2 separate regions of the Homo sapiens genome follow, and region 1 is linked to region 2. The links are contacts of gene promoters, found by promoter capture Hi-C in blood cells and fetal thymus (Javierre and others, 2016). All regions are on one chromosome and are shown on one strand. The core of a region is centred on a gene start or on the middle of the fragment in contact, and the rest is flanking DNA. Distances in the headings are between cores, read along the strand shown. Region 1 overlaps MACF1 (microtubule actin crosslinking factor 1). Region 2 holds the start of PABPC4-AS1 (PABPC4 antisense RNA 1).

Evidence for each region. Contacts are between HindIII fragments. The CHiCAGO score rates a contact against its expected background, and 5 or more counts as called.
Region 1: a contact is called between a fragment that was not itself captured here and the fragment with the promoter of PABPC4-AS1 in region 2, in 1 of 17 cell types (M2 macrophages). The highest score is 5.2, in M2 macrophages.

Annotation. Positions count from the first base shown.
Region 1 is chr1:39,318,053-39,320,756 of GRCh38, forward strand. MACF1 (microtubule actin crosslinking factor 1) reads left to right here. Exons shown (of 101, transcript NM_001394062.1): 30 at 401-563; 31 at 1,612-1,695. Among named protein-coding and RNA genes, the nearest start is that of MACF1, 110 kb to the left of the region's middle. The HindIII fragment of the contact is 1,438 bases long and covers 648-2,085 here.
Region 2 is chr1:39,563,516-39,566,596 of GRCh38, forward strand. PABPC4-AS1 (PABPC4 antisense RNA 1) reads left to right here and starts at 1,555. Exons shown (of 4, transcript NR_125979.1): 1 at 1,555-1,704. PABPC4 (poly(A) binding protein cytoplasmic 4) reads right to left here. Exons shown (of 16, transcript NM_001135653.2): 8 at 1,591-1,863; 9 at 1,171-1,258; 10 at 908-1,027; 11 at 321-407; 12 at 99-226. The HindIII fragment of the contact is 13,463 bases long and covers 1-3,081 here.

The sequences.
Region 1 (2,704 bases), core at 117-2,616, 250 kb before region 2:
TTGAGAAATTATAGTGATTCATAAATCATAGCTGTGCTGTACTGACAGGTACTCTGTCATCAGGGAATAGAACTGTACAGCCAATACTACCTTATTGGTCACCCTGGTAATTCTTGGCAACCTAGGTGAAAAATTTGACAAGGATTATTGTGGGATGCTAGACCACAAGGCAGCATCCAGGGCTAGCAGGTCACAACTGGTTTCTACTCACTTTTTTGACCATAGGGCACTGGTACATGCATAGGTCTCACTCAGCCTTGCATCGCTGTTCCCCGTAGATAAAGATGGATCGTTTGTGGTCAAGCCCAGCTGGATACATGGGTTAAAGAGGGAATTACCTCATTTACTTTATTGTATTTGTACCAAGGTATCTGATAGCAGTTTCCCTTTGTTCTTCTAGCCAATCTGAGCTAGAAAGTATCCAGGAAGTTCTGGGAGATTACCGAGCCTGCCATGGAACTCTCATCAAGTGGATTGAGGAAACCACTGCCCAGCAGGAAATGATGAAGCCAGGCCAGGCAGAGGATAGCAGAGTGCTTTCGGAGCAGCTCAGCCAGCAGACGGTGAGTGTGGTAGTAGCTCTGGCGAGAAGAGTTAGAAATTTAAATTTTCTTTATCATAAAAGAAAATGATGTACTGGCAATTAAAGCTTCCTCCAAATGGAAGATATCCAAATTCCCTTTTCTTTGAGTGGTTTGAGCAGGATCGTCCCAAGATACTGGTTTTGCATTTAGACTAGAGAACCTGTAAGGTACCTTCAGTTCTGAGTTTCTGTAACTGTATTGAAACCACTAGATGGACAGATTAAAATTATCTTTATTTTGTTTTTTTTTATATTACATTTTATTTTACTAGGATTAGATATGGGGTTTTGAAAACCAAGGGAAAATTGTAAGTAGAAGAAAATGATTCTTTTTTTTTTGAAAATGATTTATTTTAAGCATTTTTTTTTTGTTGGTATTTTGTTTTGTTTTGTTTTGTTTAGCATTATGGTTAAGAGTATGAGATCTGGAGTTGTATTGCCTGGATTCCAATTCTGGCTCACTTACCTACTATAAGCCTTTGAAGAAGTTATTTAGCTTCTCAGTGTTCTACTTCCTTATCAGTAAAATGGACATAGTTTGTTATTTATTTAACCTACCTTATGAGATTATCGTTGCTAGGATTAACTGAAGTGATACATGTAAAATACTTAGAATAGTGGTTCTCAAAGTGTGGACCCCAGACTAGCAGCATCCGTATCACCTGGGGACATGTTAGGAATGCAAGTTCTTGGGTTGGGCACAGTGGCTTCTGCCTGTAATTGCAGCACTTTGGGAGGCCGAGGCATGGGGATCACTTGAGGATAGGAATTTGAGACCAGCCTGGTTAAGAAAGCGAGAACTTGTTTCTACAAAAGATTAAAAAGACAAAAAAGTGCAAATTTGTGAACCCAAACCCACTGAACCAGAAACTCTGGAGGTGAGGCCCAGCAGTATGTGTTTTAACCACCCTTTCCAGCAATTCTGATGCAGCTAAGGTTTGGAAACTACTGCCTTAGAACATAGTAAATGTTCAGCTCTTTCAATGGTGGTAATGGCAATGATAATGTTGTGATATTTTGCTTCCTAGGCCCTATTTGCAGAAATTGAGAGAAATCAGACAAAACTGGATCAATGTCAAAAATTTTCCCAGCAGTACTCTACTATTGTAAAGGTAACTTTACCACATCCCAAAAAGAACATGAATCATCACCAGCTCAGGAAAACCTACATCTTCACTGTAGGTTCTGTTTCTAGACAAATTAAGCAGAGTTCTTATGCTACAAGCTGGCCTGATCCTTCAGTTAAGCAGATGTGTATTTCCTGCAACCCCATGTTTGGGGTTGCTTGGAGAAGTAGCAGACGTTGGCTGTGATTTGAGGAGTCTCCATTTGCGTGACCGTAGGCCCTTTAAACTTAACATGGCAAAAACAGAATGTTTGAGTTTTCTTCTTAAATATGCTTCTTACTTGTCTTTCCTATCTCAGGAAATAGTATGGCCATTTTTTTCTAATTGCTGAGGCAAAAAACCCAGGAGTCATCCTAAACTGTTCTCTTTGCCTTAAGCTTTATATTCTCCGTTGGCTCTTGTCTTCAAACATGTCCCACATCTGACTGCCTGCCGTTATCTCCCCTCTATTTCCCTAGTTCACATTCCAGTGAAGAATCTTCTTTAGACTACTACAGTACCCTCTGAGCTGGTCTCTTGCTTCTGCTCTGGCCCCCACAGGCTATTTTCCCACAGAGTAGCCAAAATCCCCTTTTTAGAACATATTGCATGTCACTGAATCTTAGACTCCATTGATTACAAGCTACACCATAATTTTCTGCATGCCAAAAAGAGGAAAAAAGAAGAAACTCTGCCAGTTATGTGACATGCCATTGATTCTAAAATATGTTCCAATTTGAAAGACTAAAATGTGGAGAAAATGTGTACCTTAGAATAGATGAAATACAGCAAATAAGATCATGTCACTCTCCTGCTCAAAACTGTCCAATGGCTTCATATCATAGTCGTAATAAAATTCTAAATTCTTACATGGTTTATAAGGCCGTGAATGATTTAGCTCTCCCCTATTTCTCTTAGAATATCTTTAAGGAAAAATGACTTGAGGCCAGGTGTGGTGGCTTATACCTGTAATCCCTGCACTTTAGGAGGCCAAGGCAAGAGGGTTACTTGATCC
Region 2 (3,081 bases), core at 305-2,804:
GCATTTAATACCTGTTGAAGGAATCAAAAGCACAGCTTCTTTTACATCAAGTGGAAATGGGGGAAATCCTTTTAAGCATTCTGTCTGGTGAACCTCACCTGCAGAGGCTGTATGGCAGGATGAGGGCTGCGGACACTGGAGGCGTATTTGTAGGGGGCAACAGCCCGGGGAGCAGCAGCAGCAACAGCAGCGCGTGGCGCTAAGTTCTGCACAGCTGTGGGAACGCCTTAGGGAAAGAACAAATACAATTAAAGCCCATCAGTCTGGGCAAAGACCCGTCAAATCCCATCTTTCCCCCTTCTGTGTGCATCCAATACCACCTCCAGACTGGCAGCTGTCAGTCAGCCCTTGCTGGGCGGCACCAGCCCCACCAAAGTCCATAGCCAAGCGGTCCGGGCACTCAGACCCTACAACAGACCAGCAAATGCACATCAGTGTTGGCGGCAGATGTCCAACTGGCCACGTCCCACGGAAGGAGAAATTTCAAAGCACGTTTACGCAACACATTGCACAGGGGGCCACTACTACTTTCGAGGATGAGCCAAAGGATAACATACAACTCTTTCCACATCTTGGAATACAAGACATATTCTGTATACACTGTTTCCTTGTATTCCTCACCCCACCCAAAAGAACAAGCTGCCTCTGTGGTCATCCAGCTAGCAAACTTCTACAACTAACCTTTTTCACATAGGTCACCGATGAGCAAAGAATGTTAAAAGCAACTGACACACCTAGAACTCATACTGTTTCTCTGCTCCTGAAGTGGCCACCTAAGCACACAGCTAAGATTACAGAACCAGGACTCGATAAATTCGAGCCCAACAAACTGACCAACCCAGGACAGAGCCTAGTCATCCTGACTCCCTCCTCCCCAGGCCACACTTCTAAAGGCCAGTTTGCTCACCGACTCTCTGAGTGGTAGTAGGGAGGCCACGAGAGGCCGGAGCATTACCAGTTGGAGCCAGATGGCGAAGAGTTGGACGAGGCCCAGACTGGCGTATAGCACTTGGCATTCCTTGGAAGCCTGGTGAAGAGAAAAATTGCACATCATTGAGAAGTGATGTGGACCAGAACCTAGGCTGTGCCTCAGAGTGGGGAAGAAGGAAAGGCAGGGGAGACCAGGACAGGTATATCCTGGGCTGTCAATTACTGTTCCCCACCACCTACCTTGAGGTCTCCCACCTTGCTGCCAGCGTGGATTAGGCCTCATCTGTGCTAACTGGTTAGGTGTATAATATGGAGGCCTTCCCTGAGCCTGTAAGACAGAAGAATACCCAAACACCCCCTTAAGGACTGAACCCATCCTAGAGAAGTATCTCATCTCATCTCACTAACCAGGACCTAAGCTAATTATTTAAATGTTCTTTCTATTCAAGAGCTGAGGGGTCAGCTAATGGGGACTGTTTTATGCTACCACTGCCACTGTGGGTGTGTGTTTGTGACCATGGGTAAGTCCTTCATTTTTACTTGAAGGGTCCTTATTGTGACATTCTAGAACTCTAATAACGAAAAATCCCTCTCCCCAACCACTGCAGAATACTGCCAGCCGGCAGGTTCCCAAGAGCTGTGACCAAACAGCACACCCACCTGTGGGACTGCTGGCACAAAGTAGCCACCCGCTGCAGGCTGGAACTGATTTAAGATGGCATTGGCAGGAAGTGCTCTCATTCCAGCCACTCGTTGCATATACTGGTTGGTCAGGTGAGCCTTTCTCTCTTCCTTCCTCTGGGCCAGGGCAACATATAGTGGCTTGGAGCCCACAATGCGTCCATTCATCTCAGTGACTGCTTTGGTTGCTTCTTCAGGAGATGAGAAGCAGACGAAGCCAAACCCTTTGCTTCTTCCATCCTCCAGCATTACCTACAAAATGAGACCAGCTACTTAAGAAATAAGGTGTCCCTGGCTGGGTGTGATGGCTTGTGCCTGTAATCCCAGCACTTTGGAAGGCTGAGGTGGGAGGGCTGCTTGAGCTCAGGAGGTTGAGACCAGCTTGAGCAATGTAGTGAGACCTCATCTCAAAAAAACAAAGGGCCAGGCGCAGTGGCTCATGCCTGTAATCCCAGCACTTTGGGAGGCCGAGGTGGGTGGATCACGAGGTCAGGAATTCAAGACCATCCTGACCAACATGGTGCAACCCCGTCTCTACTAAAAATACAAAAATCAGCTGGGCGTGGTGGCACACACCTGTAATCCTAGCTACTCAGGAGGCTGAGGCAGGAGAACCGCTTCAACCCGGGAGACAGAGATTGCAGTGAGCCGAGATCGCGCCACTGCACTCCAGCCTGGGCGACAGAGCGAGACTCCATCTCCAAAACAAAACAAAACAAAACAAAACAAAACAAAACAAAAACACCAACCAACCAAACCAACAAAAAAAACAAAACAAACCTACAAATAGGAAAAAAAAGGATGTCCCTGGGTGGGGAGGGAACTATTCAGAAGAACCAGAAAGCCTGGGTTCTGCTGCAGTCACTGAGTCTAGGTCAGGGTTCTGGCACAGGATTTACCCCAGACCAACTAAGTCACAACCTCTAAGGTATCTAGGTGTTTTCTTTGAGTCCCCAGGTGATGCTAAAGTTCTGAAACACTATGATATGGCTAATAATAAAACCAGGAACTCAAAGATGTTTCCTGATACCTGGTGGATAGCTACTCCGGGTAACCACAAAACATCTTGAGAGTAGTACTGAGCAATTTATTTTCATATCTCATATGCTTCAAGACCTCGGTGGACAAACTCTAACAAGCTCTTACCAACGTCAGGATAACACTTTTGGAATACCACGTGTGGACAGGAGTCCTAAAATGTTCAGGTAACCAATGACTGCCACCATTAATTCAATGAGATGACCAGCTCAGAGATAGGCAGCCTAGATTCTAGTCTCACTTGCCTTCCTGAGGCTCAATTTCCAAGAAATACTCCAAACAGCTACAAAACCACAGGTCTACTGGTTCAGGCAGTCTTTTCCCACATTAAGTTCATCATTCACAAATGGCATTCTTCCTAATAGACAAGGTTATTCACTGTCTTCTCTGGTGTGACTGTCATTGTTTTATGTCTTAGTTAATGGCCCAGAG